Regions from separate parts of the Homo sapiens genome. Here region 1 is linked to region 2. The links are contacts of gene promoters, found by promoter capture Hi-C in blood cells and fetal thymus (Javierre and others, 2016). All regions are on one chromosome and are shown on one strand. Each heading gives the region's core, a stretch centred on a gene start or on the middle of the fragment in contact. The rest is flanking DNA. Distances are from core to core; before and after follow the strand shown. Region 1 holds the start of RP2 (RP2 activator of ARL3 GTPase). Region 2 holds the start of KDM6A (lysine demethylase 6A).

What was found. The method cuts DNA at HindIII sites, captures the fragments that hold promoters and counts their contacts. A CHiCAGO score of 5 or more calls a contact.
Region 1: the fragment with the promoter of RP2 here is called in contact with the fragment with the promoter of KDM6A in region 2 in 1 of 17 cell types (neutrophils); the score reaches 5.4 in neutrophils.

Annotation. Positions count from the first base shown.
Region 1 is chrX:46,831,656-46,839,332 of GRCh38, reverse strand. It overlaps RP2 (RP2 activator of ARL3 GTPase), which reads right to left and starts at 2,290. Exons shown (of 5, transcript NM_006915.3): 1 at 2,131-2,290. The coding sequence starts at 2,232. RefSeq lists an enhancer at 2,159-2,298 and a silencer at 2,609-2,688. The HindIII fragment of the contact is 11,862 bases long and covers 1,060-7,677 here.
Region 2 is chrX:44,871,578-44,878,422 of GRCh38, reverse strand. It overlaps KDM6A (lysine demethylase 6A), which reads right to left and starts at 5,235. Exons shown (of 30, transcript NM_001291415.2): 1 at 4,711-5,235; 2 at 4,436-4,499. The coding sequence starts at 4,871. RefSeq lists silencers at 4,236-4,335, 4,346-4,425, 4,466-4,725, 5,066-5,295, 5,546-6,045. The HindIII fragment of the contact is 16,030 bases long and covers 3,496-6,845 here.

The DNA.
Region 1 (7,677 bases), core at 1,041-3,540, 2.0 Mb before region 2:
AGAGCCACCAGCCTTGGCCTCCCAAAGTCCTGGGATTACAGGCATGAGTCACCATGCCTGGCCCTAGAAAAAAATATTTTAAATTGTATAAAATTTAACAAGCTATCAAAATGAGGCAACTTAGAAAGAATTCCTAGTAATTCCAAAAGAAAAAAAAACTAAAAAGAAAAAGCTATGTTGGGAAATGTGGTATCTGCATTGTCTCAAAATGTAAGCTGGTAATTCTCTTCAACAGTCCAAAATATTTTAAAACTGGGGTTTTTTTCAGAATGCTCATTTGGTTAGAAATTCTCATTTTGATTGGCTGAGTTGATCAAGATTTTAACTTTTATTATACACACACTCAGAAGCATGAGCTTATTTTATATATCCAATAACATCTCTTACAACTCTACAACTACAGAACTTAGTAGTGTTCTCAAAAAAAAAGGTTCTCTGTAAGCTCAAAACAGTTTCTACAATTGAAAGTTTATTACACACTCATTTGTGGGGAAAAAGCTTAGATGTTGGTGTCCAATGTTATATTTCTCAATGCATTTACTTAGCCAATGGGCAAAAGAAGAAAAAAAATCACAGGACACACACACTTATCTAAAAGAAGGATTAACATGAGAAGTCCTAACTAACCTGAATATTATGTTAATAAACATTAACTGTAAAACAATTTATTGTGAAACGATGAGTCATAGGCAGCCAAGACTACTATAAATAAAAAAGGCATTTTATTTAGTTTAGATTTAGCCTGAGTTCAAAAGAAAAAACTAAAATAAAAATGAAATATGCAACTTTCTCTAAGGCAGACAATTCAAGCTAAAAGAACATTGTTAGAAAGCCAAAGGCTGAGGAAAACAATATCTTTTAAAAACCGCCCATCAGATAACTTTAAATGGCAGGTGCAATCTTCTTGTGAAATAGAAAGCATAGTACTTTCTTCCCCTACATTATAAAATGCTACTATCGAGTATGACTAACAGAGAATAAAGGTACCATGTGACCCAAGAAGGGTGTGTATGAGAAGTAGGGGCAGAAAGACGGGGCTGAGAAAAGCTGCAAAAAGCTTTCAATTTCCTAACTCTGACTCTTAGAGACCAGAGCTTACCTGAATACATTCTGCTGGGGATTGGAAATCATGCAGAAAGGTCTGTGATTCCAAAACGTTAATACATTTATTATAAAGTAATCTTGGGTAAAGATATGTTGCCTTAAGCAAAGAGTTAACTGTTCATAATACCCATTTGAAAAATCTCTCATTTTGTTTGGGAGAAATAATTGATAAGTCCATCAAAGTAGTTTAGTAAGCACAAATGGAGAACTATGTAGAAAGAGGAACTATTATGAAATGTATGACCGAGTGTGTTTTGTGTAAGACTAATGGAGGTTTTCAAAGGTTTTTCGTTTCTGGCTATATACAAAAATAAAAATAAGGGCGTTTTCATTCATTTAAACCAGCAGTAAAATACTGCCTGGTTTATGCCGCTTATTTTCACCTTACAGTCTTAATACACATTCCAAGACTGATGCGATATTCATTATTTCTTTCGGATAACTGGAAGAGGAGGGGGAGTAAAGCTGTACATTAAACAGTCCACTTGGTAATTGAGAAAATTCAGCAGTGAAATATATCATGAGGCACCAAAGAGATTTGCCGGGGAGGGCAGACAAAAGAGAAAACAGCCACAGAACATTAAGCCCCGGAAGAGATGAGAATCGGTCCCATATACGTAACTCGACGACTGGACAAAACCCCGCTTGACGCTGCCGGTGGGTGAAACGAGGTGATTTGAGATTCAGGGCGTTCTCGGCTCTTTCCCTCTCTCGAATCGATCATCTCCAACAGGAAGTCAGAGCAAGGCAGGGTTCGGAGTCAGAGAAAGCTCCCGGGGGAGTCTGTCTACCACGACAACAAACTCCTAAGGCTCCTTCCGGAGCTCCACAGCCCTCTGGGCGGCCTCTCTAGCGCTGTACTTCACGTCCCCGCTCCCCAAAAAAGTCGTGCACCCCGACTTCAGCTATCCGCGTTCAAGAGAGTGCGGCAGCAGTTGGGTCGGCCCCCTCAGCGGTCCCGGGCCGTAAGGGACCTGGCGGAGCGGCTCAGGGAGGCTGAGACGGCGGCTACACGACTTTCATTACCTTCTCGCGCTGATCCCAGCTGTACTGCTTTGGCCGCTCCTCCTCGTTCTCGGGCCGCGACTCCTTGTCAGCCTTCCGTCTCTTGGAGAAGAAGCAGCCCATGGTCCCAGCCCGCGGAGCTCGTTGGCCAGCTCACTAGCTCAGGCACTTCCTAGAGTGTGGCGTGAACCCTGGGAACCCCGGCCTCGCAGCTCTCCGGACAACGCCCCGCGGAACCGCCCAACGGTCCGCAGCCTTAGTTTGCCCGCCAGGCCCAGCACCCCTTCCCCTTTTTCGTCGCCCTGACGACCCAGCGCAGCCAATGAACGCTCAGCGCCTGTTGAGCCAATCAAAGCCTCTCGAGCAATCCTGCGCGGCCTATGAAGAGAGGCCGACATACCCACATACCAATCCACGCCTGGCTCCTGCGACAGCCCCTGGCGGCGGGGCGGGCCGGCTCTGGCGCAAGCACGGACAACCCCGCCCACAGCTGTGGCACGGACCGCCCTCGGCCCCGCCCCTCCTGGAACTTGGTGGGTTCTCTAGCTGGTGGGAGGCCAGGCTCGGTATCCGGGTTTTTTTTGCCCCTGATTCATAAATTTGCAAGTTCAAGGCGCGGGAGAGATCTCTAGTTGAACATTAGATTTATCTTATGATGAAAGTTGTGAGGGACAGAAATTCCCGCTGACACAAGAAGACCCTGAAATTTGTATTTCTAAATCCTCTTCTCCCCTCATCACCCTTCCTACCGCCCTCTCATCGCCTGGCCAGGGTCACCCCCTCAAGAATTGTACCCCATAACCTCCCAATCCTCTTCTGTGCTCTTTCTTTCTTTCTTTCTTTCTTTCTTTCTTTCTTTCTTTCTTTCTTTCTTTCTTTCTTTCTTTTTCTTTCACAGGGTCTCGCTATGTCACTCAGGCTGCAGTGGCACAATCATAACTCACTGCAACCTTGCAACTTTGCAACCTTGACTTCCTGGGCTCAAGCGATCCTCCTGCCTCAGCCTCCTTCCTGAGTAGCTGGAACTACAAGCAAGCACCACCATGCCCACCTATTTTTTTTTTTTTTTACTTTTGTAGAAATGGGGTCTTGCTATGTCGCCCAGGCTGGTCTTGAACTCCTGGGCCCAAGCGATCATCCTGCCTCAGCCTCTCAAGGTGCTGGGATTACAGGCAGGACCCACCGCACCCCAGGCTGCTTCTGTGTTTTCTTAAGACTTTCACATATGGCTCTAAAATTGCACAAGTACTTAGTAAAATAGTTAATTGTGTATTGTTTCCCTATTTGAACTGTGACTTTCTTGAGATCAAAAAGGTATATCTTTTTTTTTTTTTTTTTTTTTTGATGGAGTTTTTGCTCTTGTCGCCCAGGCTGGAGTGCAGCAGTGCCATCTCGGCTCACTGCAACCTCCGCCTCCCGGGTTCAAGTGATTATCCTGCCTCAGCCTCCAGAGTAGCTGGGACTGCAGGCGCCTGCCACTACGCCCGGCTAATTTTTGTATTTTTAGTAGAGACGGGGTTTCACCATGTTGGGCAGGCTGGTCTCGATCTCCTGACCTCAGGTGATCTGCCCGCCTCGGCCTCCCAAAGTGCTGGGATGACAGGCATGAGCCACCGCGCCTGGCCTAAAAGGTATGTCATAAAGGGCATGCAGGGCCGGGCGCGGTGGCTCACGGCTGTCATCCCAGCACTTTGGGAGGCCGAGGCGGTAGGATCATGAGGTCAGGAGATCGAGACCATCCTGCTCAACACAGTGAAACCCCGTCTGGTGAAACCCCGTCTCTACTAAAAATACAAAAATTAGCCGGGCGTAGTGGCGTGTGCCTGTAGTCCCAGCTACTCGGGAGGCTGAGGCAGGAGAATTGCTTGAACCCAGGAGGTGGAGGTTGCAGTGAGCCAAGATGGCGCCGCTGCACTCCAGCCTGGGCGACAGAGGGAGACTCTGTCTAAAAAAAAAAAAAAAAAAAAAAACCAGAGCCGGGGGGGGCGGGCACGGTGGCTCACGCCTGTAATCCCAGCACTTTGGGAAGCCAAGGCGGGCGGATCACAAGGTCAGGAGTTCGAGACCAGCCTGGCCAATATGGTGAAACCTCATCTCTACTAAAAATACAAAAATTAACCGGGCATGGTGGCGGGCGCCTGTAGTCCCACCTACTCGGGAGGCTGAGGCAGGAGAATAGCTTGAACCCAGAAGGCGGAGGTTGCAGTGAGCCGAGATGGCGCCACTCCACTCCAGCCTGGGCGACAGAGCAAGACTCCGTCTCAAAAAAAAAAAAAAAAAAAGGCAGTGGGGAGGAAAGCTGAGGGGAGGGATGTACCTTTGAATCTCCTACACCTGGCCCAAGTCCATACTAGGTGCTCAATACAACGTTTGTCAAATGAATGAATGCATGCATGGGTGCTAGTGAAGGAAGCATTTATAAACTTCCCCCATCCCTTCCCAAAGAAAGTGACCAAACTGTGGGGGTGGGAGGCATGTGGATTTATGGTAAAGGGGTTCTCCTCATGGAGTTTATAGCCTCGTTGAGGACATAAGCATTGCATATGAACGATCAGATCTGTTCTAAGCAAATGGCATAGGGTTCGTCAGAATATATTTAAAGATATATACACTAAATATAAACATTTGTTATACTTGGGTCGAATTTTACTGCAATACACATGCATTGCCTATGTAATAGAAAAGAAAGGTAAGTCAGTTTCTCTGAGAAACAGTATTTTGACATCTCAGTAGGATATCAAATGCTGATCACTTCAGGTTCAAATTTGGTTATCTTTTAAATTTCCCATACTTATTCACATCTAGTTTGTATCCTAAATGAGCCTCTGACTTTTTTTTTTTTTTTTTTTTTTGAGACAGAGTCTCGCTTTATCACCCAGGCTGGAGTGCAATGACATGATCTCAGCTCACTGCAACCTCCACCTCCCAGGTTCAAGCAATTCTCCTGCCTCAGCCTCCCGAGTAGCTGGGGCTACAGGCGCACAAAACCACACCTGGCTAATTTTTGTATTTTTAGTAGAGACGGGGTTTCACCATGTTGGCCAGGCTGGTCTCGATCTCCTGACCTCAGGTGATCCACCCACCTCGGCCTCCCAAAATGTTGGGATTACAGGCGTGAGCTACAGTGCCCGGCCGACTTAATTTGAACATAAAGAATGTTCCCCTTTTTACTTCCCGTCCTTTATTGCACAATCGGGAAGAAAAGTACATGTGCTTAAGTATTAGAAATTACTGCAAATTTAAGTTCCAGATCTTAGGCAATAGAGTCTTTACCCAGTGCACACTTTTTCTCCTTCAGAGTGAGATGAAAGTTTTATGTGAAGATGTTTTTGGATAAGACCCTCATTCGATATTTTATAATCTATTATTATATTTATAATCTATGGTCTATGATTATAAAACATCTGTGACCAGATATAAATATATAACTATGACCACTACTTAGTGTAGCAGAGGAGGCAGAGATCCAGAGAGGTGAAGGGATGAATCTGTGGTCACGATGAGAGTGGCTGAGCAGGGACTGGAAAAATCCACATCCTGTGTTTCCCAGTGCCTCCTCCTGCCTTAAGTTTGTTCCTCTCTAATTCATCTGAAATAAGTATCTGCCTCGGCCTTCTGATGCCTATGGGAGCTCTGTCCCACAGTGATGCTATTCCTCTTAATGAACAAACAATATAACAAAACTAATTCTAGAGAAACAACCTCTGAAACTCTCACTGTTTTGAAGTATTCATTAATGAGAAAAGCTCAAATCTACAATAAAACCTATATCCAAGAGTGATCTTTTCAGGGACCCTTAAAAGTGAAGATAAAGTCCCTTTTCTGTTCATTCCCATCCTACCATCACTCTTGACCAAAAACAAAATTACAAAAAGAAAATTAAATCAAATGTTAAGAACTGGGGACTAGAAAGCTAATGAACAGAGCTAATACTAGTGCTGTCTCATCCTTTTTCTTTCTCTCTTATTCTTTCTTTCTTTTCTGCCCCATCTCTTTTTCACCTGTCCCCATGAATTCTCATCACTACTTATTTTTGCAAACCAGCTCTCTACTTACTCATCAGCATTTACATGGTTGACAACAGCTATCCCACCCTGATTCCTCATGGCCTTTCTGTCCAAGGGCATGCTACAGTCTCAGACTCTCAAGGGAGATAATCATATACATTGCTGGCCAGTCAATAACAGATTGGCTCTAGGTTGGTATGCACCCCTGGTCCCATTGCTGCAGCTGCAGGGGCGAATTCCAAACATGGGTGTTACAGATATGGGTGGGAAGCAGGTCCTGAAAAGGGAACGCTAACTCTGAAGAGTTCAGGCAGAAGTTGGTTGCTTGTTCTGCTTGTGCTCCTCCTGCTATTTATATTCTAGTGATTTCTTTTCTATAGAAGGCTGCCCTTCCTGTTCAGCTTGATGTATCTATTCATCTATATTAAAATGTTGAGTTGTGGGTTTACACCTGGCCACAAGCTCCAGAGATGGCTCTGGGTCCCCTGAGTCTTGACCACAGAAGTGATATAGTTACTTCTCAGAAGACAGTCCTGGCCGGGCACGGTGGCTCACACCTGTAATCCCAGCACTTTGGGAGGCCGAGGCAGGTGGATCACTTGAGGTCAGGAGTTTGAGACCAGCTTGGTCAACATGGTGAAAATACTAAACATACTAAAAATGCAAAAATTAGCCAGGCGTGGTGGTGCGCCCCTGTAATCCCGGCTACTCAGAAGGCTGAGGTGGGAGAATTGCTTGAACCCGGGAGGCAGAGGCTGTAGTGAGCCAAGATCGCACCACTGCACTCCAGCCTGGGCAACAGAGTGAGATCCCATCTCAAAAACAACAACAACAAAAAGACAGTCCTGAAGCAGTGTATCTCTACAGCATGAATAAGTCAATTACCCCAGCAACGATGGCTGGAAAATTCCCTATGTTTGAGTTGACCTGACACATCCTTGCTCACTCTGCACTCACCTAAGGAAATACTTCACATCAAGTGAAAGAGGAGTGTTTCAGTCATCTATTGCTGAGTAACAAACCACCTGAAACGTAATCGCTTAAAGCAATAATAACTTAATATTTCTTTTACTCATGAACCTTGGTGGGGACAACTCAATTCTGTTCCACAGTACATCTGGAGCCTCAGCTGGGATGACTCAAATGGCTGGGGTGCTGGCCAAGAATCATTCTACATGAAATCTCAGAGCCTCTCCACCCAGTCTCTCCTGCAAGGTGGCTTTAGGGTATTTGAACTCCATACATCATGCTCAGGGCTCCAAGAGTGAGTGTTCCATGAGACCAACGTGGAAGCTGCAAGGCTTCTTATGGTGTGGCCTCGGAAGACATGCAACATCACTTCACTGGATTCTATTGGTCACCCAGGGCTGGCCCTGACTCACTAAGGGAGGAGATGAAACAAGAGACATGAATACTCGAAGGTGCAGATCTTTGAGGTGTCATCTCTGTGGCTAGTCTCCATGGCAGGAGTCAAATCTGTTCAATTCATATACTGATGAAGAGGATTGGAAGGTTTAAAAAAATATATAGGCAGATAACTTTTTTCCCCTTTTCATAAGTG
Region 2 (6,845 bases), core at 3,986-6,485:
ACAAAGCATGACATTATTTCCATGGCTACTTTCTTTTTTTGTTTGTTTTTGTTTTTTGAGACAGGCTCTCATGACTTTTCTAACCAAAACACTAGCCATCTTTAGCACTGGAAATGAATTTACAGGTTGAGCATCCCTAATCTGAAAATCCAAAATCTAAAACTTTTTGGGTACCAACATGACACTCAAAGGAAATGCTCATTGGAGCATTTTGGAATTCAGATTTTCAGATTAGGGATGCTCAACTGGTATGTATTCTGCAAATATTCTGAAACCCAAAAAAATCCCAAATCCAAAACACATCTGGTTCCAAGCATTTTGGATAAAGGATACTCAACCTGTATGCCTTTAAGTGCCAGCAAACAAAAAACACACATAAATGAGAATGTTTTTAATCAACATCCAAATATTACAATTTAAAAAAGCCACCTCTAGAACTGACCTAATAATTTCCCCTACCAAACACGCCAGCAAACCAAATTTAAGAAAATATGTTTCAATGGATCTTAAACTACTTCTATTATCAAAAAAATTTAAAACACCAACTGTTTTAATGCTAATATGTCCTACGGAAAAAAGCACATACATTTTTAAGTGATATACAATCTATAACTTCTAAGTATTTTGTATAATCTTTCTACTAATAGAATTACCAAAAAAATTTCCAATAAGAGTATTTAAGAAAAACTTAAAAATAAGATACTTTGTTCAAAACTGTGTATTTTAGCAATAGTTCCCTGACGCAGATAAGATTCCCCAGTCCCCTAGCATTATTACTATAACTATACTTGGTAGTACTACTATATTTAAACTTACTACATTTATGGTATATATTCGTATATATTCTACTTTAACTCAAATCCTTACCCTACTTAAAAAAAAAAAAACCCAAAAGGTTTTCAAAAATGTACTAAAAAAGTCACAAGTTAATTTCTGTTAAAATATTTTGCTTAGTTTTCGATAACTCCACTGAAATTTTAAAAATAAGAATCTTGAATTATTACATTACCAGAAGATTAAGGGTCAGCATTCAAGAGCACTGTTCAAGATCACCCTATATCACAAGAACTCTAATTACGCAGGCTCTAGCTGTTTACAACCTTAAAGACATTACCAAAAAATAATACATTGTATTAACTACCTTATTTTTTTAATCCAAAACCCCAGGCATTGTATATCAAATGGCCATCCTACAAACAAAAAATTCTTTCAATGACTCTAATATAACTGAATCTGACAAAAACATTCGGGAGACGATGAGAAATCAGTGGTTTGAATAAACTGCACACCTGGAAAAGGAATACACATATAGATATGTACATACGTATACATACGCATATGCATATATATACATATATGTGTATACGCATATACATACGTATGTATATACATGTATATATGTATACACGTATACGTGTGTATATACGTATGCGTATACGTGTATATACGTATTCATATACGTGCGTATATACGTATACGTGTGTATATGCGTATATGTATATGTGTGTATACGTATATGTATACGTGTGTATATATGTATATGTACACGTGTGTATATATGTATACGTACATATGTTAAGGGACAAGTAAGAGACATATTTAATGCTTTCAACTTTCTAAAGCTTTTAGGTCAAGAGTTTTTTTTAACATACAAATGTGAATTTTAAAAACTTGAAAGAAAATCCAATAATATACATAGGAATAAGAATTTTTGAAAACAAGTAGTAATAGCTAAATTTCTGCCAGAAAGGAAAACGTTATACAAAGTGCAGACTAAATTGGGGCCGGGGGGTTGGGGGTGGGGGGGCATGGCAGGACAAAAATCAAAGCTAAAAAGGGAATTCTGGGAGTTATTCAATTCCATTATCTGCCCTCAGGTAAGTAGCCTAAACCTGCCCAGTAAAGGAAAGCCAACTCTTAAGACTTTCAGGGAATAAGAATTCTGAAACCAACATAGCTCAACATTCCACAAAAAATAAAAATAAAAAACAAAAAAATACTGCTTCGAGGACTGTTAAAAGAAGGATGAAACTAAATAATTCAAGACTTCCTACAGCAGGACTCCAGCTCATTCACTTCATTCAGAACCCAATTCAAACAGAGGGTGCGAAGTTATATAATGTCAGGCTTTACATTACACACCCCACTGGTATGTTCAGGCTCACAAAGATGCAACCAAGAACTATATGCGGTTGCAAGCACATATTACAGAAGGTTTTATTTTAATGTTAAGGCTGATGAATCTTGTCCTAAGCAGGTAGGACACCTCACAAGCACTGAGTCTGAAGCAGTGAAGATTTTTTTTTCTTTAGTTTAACAAACTGCTTAATCGTTCATCAAATTACCCCATATATCATGAAGGCCCCAAACATAGTGAAGCTTCACTAGTTTTTCATTTTTAAGATGTATTCAAACATCAAGTAATGCACAACTTGCCAAGAATATTTGAAAATGGTTACTTTTTTAAAATTTAAACTCGTTAGTGCATAACTGCAGGGTTTAATATTACAATCCGAAATCCAATGTTAAGCACTATTCGCAGTGAATCTATATGAATATGAGCATTCTAAGACATAAAATCAACTAGCATTTTACACATTCTCAACATAAAACATCAGATTCCATTTATTTTTTCATCACCATAACCAAAAGCAATCGATTTGGCCAAACTTTTCCACGTGAATTATCTTTGCAAGCAATTTTATTAACCCATGTTAGACCAACAATAATCCCTCCAAAACAAAATAATGCTCTTTTAATTTAAATCATGTTTAATCTTTTATAATGACAACTTTGACAGCAGTCAAATATTTTTAAATAAAATACTTTAAATACTCAAATTGGAAAAAAAAAAAAAAACTTTAAGGCAGGAGACCAACAATTACTGACGCTTAAATCTTTCCAGAGCTAGTCACTGTTCATTTTTACAGCAATAATTGTAATGAAGCCAATTAATACCTACGTAGTCAAAGTTTAATTCAAGTTTTCTGTATCGGTCAAAGGGGCCGGGCTTACTGAAAAGCATTATTTCCATTTAGTTTTCTGATTATATGCAATATAACACCTTATAATTACTTTGAAATAAAAACAAATGTGTAATTACAGATAAAAAGGAATTGATGACTCTGCGAAACCAAGCTACAGACAAAAATTCAGAACAACAAAAAAATCAACTTAAGAATAAAATGTTAGACTTATTTCAAACTTGCGTCTCAACTGCAACAATAAAGCTAGGTGTCAAATGCAAAGCTATGATTTCAGCTAGAAAAGAAAATGTCTAACGGATACAACACCCATAGCACACACTCCAACTTTCACGGTCCCAATTACGAAGAAAGTATTCAAATACCATTGCAATCAGATTTTGGTCAGGAAATATAAACTGATGCATACAGATTGAGACTCCAGCCTTTGTTCAATAGCTTACAGATGGATAACTAAATGTGCTACAGGTTGATAAGCATTTACCAGGCTTATGCATGCTGCTTCCAAGCTTATGAAAGGTATAAGAATTCTATATGCAAATAATCTTGGGTAATTTTTTTTAAACACCACTGAGCTACACACTCCGAAGGAAAGGCTTATTCACGGCTACTATTTATTTCCATGTTTACCTCTACACCCTCCCCCTAACCCCCCCCTTCACTTTCTCCTCCCACCCTGTCCCGCCATCTTGGGCCGATAGGAGCAGCCATTACTTAACTAAATGACAGTGCCAACAACTTTCCACACAAATAAAAAAAGACTACACCCCGAATCCTCCCCAGCCTCCCCTGTCAGACACACAGGAAATGAGGCTCCAGGAAGAGAACACGTTTACAAATAACTACGGTATTTCTATGCCAAAAAGACCCAAAAAGTAAACAAGTCACCTAACTTCAGGTAACACACACTGCAATCGAGATACATGTCAACAGCCCAATGCAAACTCTTCACCGACCTAAACTCCGTGAAACTTCCCCCTTCTGGGAGCGGGGACACAAGAAAGCCTAAAACATTTGGTTAGCAGTAGGCATCACGAACAGCCTGCTTGAAGGAAAAGAATTTTTTTAAACCCGTAGAGGCAAGTTAAGTCCGAAATTTGGGAAAATCTGAACACACTCACGATCCCTTGACCCTAAACAGGCACCTCGAAGATCATCGGCCTACCCTCAAAAAGCTGTAAAATAGCAGGCAGTTGTGTCGACCCAGTTGAGCCCGGCCCCAAAGCGATCCCGTCTCTGTTCCTCCAGCTACAAGAGGAAAAGAGCGATTTCGCAAGGGAGCAAGCAGGGTACCCGGGGGTGGGGGGAGAGCAGAGGCAGGAAATAGTTTCCGGAAGCCCCTCGACCATCGTCCGTGGCCACAATGAGCACAGACCCGGCCGCGGGGCCCGGGGCGAGCGCGGCGCCGGCCAGGGAGACGGTGTCCGCGCTCCGACTCGCAGCTGCCTTACCTTGCCCAGTAGGGCCTTCGTCCTGGCGCCATCTTCATGAAATCTCACGAACCCAAAGAGGCGGCTGTGGAGACAGACACAGTTTACTCGTTAACGCTCAGGGAACGCCACCGACCCGTCCCTGCCCGAGCCCGAGGCCCCAGCGGAGGCGGCGCGAAGAGCGCCAAACCGAGGTGCCCGCCCCGCCGCCGCCAGAGACAAGCCGCGCTCGGTCCTCCCGGGAGAGCGGCTACTGCCCGTCCGGAGCCGACCGGGCGAGTGACGGCGGCCCGTACCTGTCCAGTCCGCCGAGCGCCTCCCTCTCCTCGGCTGTCAGGCTGGGGGACGCCTCCTCGCTCTCGCCGCTCGCTTTTCCCGCCGCCATTTTCTTTTCCTCATCACCGAAAGCGGCGGCGGCAGCGGCGGCGGTAGCGAGCGACACTCCGCAGGATTTCATGGAAACGCAGCGAATTCACAACTCCAACGCCGACACCCCCCCTCGGACCGGGGCCCGCAGTGACGCCCCCAATCTGCGCGCGGGACCAGCACACCAACTTTATCGCCGCCTCCTCCTCCGCCGCGGGCGGCGGCGACGAAAAATCCCAACGCGGCGGCGGTGAAGGCGGCGGCGGCGGCGGCAGGGGCTGCGGAGCCCCCGGGTCGGCAGCGGCGGCTTTCGGCTGTAGGGTCACATCGCGGGGTTGGGCAGGGGGCAGCCACAGGCGGGGACGGCGGGAACGGCCGGAGCGCGCGGGGCTGGGGAGCACTGAGGGGATTCGTTGGAGACACAAACTTCCCCGGCACCAGCACAAAGTTGTTGTAATTGTGTCACACAGCGAACCCCACGCCGCCGCCGTGACCCCCCCTCCCCGCCCGGCTGGCGCCACCAATCGGCGCGGCCCGCACGCCTCACGTGACCTTTGTTGACTCACGTCAGCCGTGGCTCCACTTAACTTGCTAGCTGCCCGAGCCCCGCCCACCGAGGCCGCCACCGAGATGGGAGCGGGACGCAGGCCAATTCTAGCCGGTGGTTGGCTGCTGGGCGCGTCTGTCGGGGGAAGGGTTGTCACCGAGAGGGAGCTTCCTGTTAGGTTGTGCTGGTTAAATACACTGGGGCAGAGAATGGAGGGTCCGGGCCGTGTCACCTCGGGAACCGCGGCGGGCTCTGGAGGGGGAGGGGAGTGGTGGGGAAGGGCGAGGTCCGGCACCGCCCGCGGCGGGCGCGAGCGGCGGGCGAAGACGCCAAGGACGGCATTTGCCTGCCCGCGAGCTCTGGGATGTGCCCAGACCGCGGCTCCGGCCGTCCCGCGCGCGCTCCAGGGGTCCCGGGACCCCACAGGGCCTGGTACAGGTCGCGTAGCCGGGAGGCGGCGCACGGCCCTCGACCTCTGCCCTCCGAAGAAGGCTCAGACTTTTGGCACTGCTGGAAATAATGGCCTCCGCGAGGAGGGCGCTCGGGGAGCGGCTGCCGGTCCCGTGCCCCGCGGTCCGGGTGCCGCCCTAGGCCAGACCTGCGCTGGCAGCCCCGATCACCTCACCCGCGCCGAAAGTGAAGGGGGAAGGGCTCCCCTGACCCCCGCCCATACGCCCCAGGCCGGAGGGAATGAAGAGTCGCCCGCGGGGCCTGGCTTGCCGACCATGGCTCCCCACCGCCAAAGGTCTGTCTGTTGGCGGCACTTTGGGGCCAGATTTTCGTGCTGTGTTTACCCTGTGTCTTATCAGTAGTTCATTACAGTCTTACAAGAAAAAGCAATGAGAAATTGTGAAGCGGGATCTGCAGAATGTTGGGTTCTATTGCCATGATTTCAGTGGAGCCTTCTTACAAAAGTAGGGGCTGCTTGTGGACAGACCTGAGAGAAGACATAATTAAATCATCACAGCTGGTGGCCCAAGAAATCCTTTCTATCCCCCAAAACCTGCAGGTTTGTAACCCCTAGACAACAGTAACATTTTGTTGTTCTGTCTCTCAGGTGCAGGGGAAAGGCTTTAGTCTGACTTTTAATCTTTACTATAGGTGAAAAAAAAATAGGCCTTTCGACTACTCTTCTCAAAAGGCAAATTTATTTACTAAGCTGTATGTCTTATAACAGGGATAGGAAAAAATTGATAGACATATAAGGACAAGATTCTGTTTATAAACGGAGTTTTTTATATTTTCAATAGGTTTTCCACCTGTAACCAATAAAAATTATATATTTAAACTTGGATTTCAAAATATGACGAAGACAATTCAGTGCTGACCCAGTAATTCCTACCAGTATTCAGCGGGAAGCTATGGGAATCCCAACTGATTTTGCACACAGTTTTAAATTGTTCCCCTGAGACTAGTAACTAGACGAACAAACTGTAGTTTTGTATAGATTATAGTTCATGTTTAATTACTTCCTCTGAAACACCTTTCCCTTTATGATACTCCATTTTGCTTGAATGA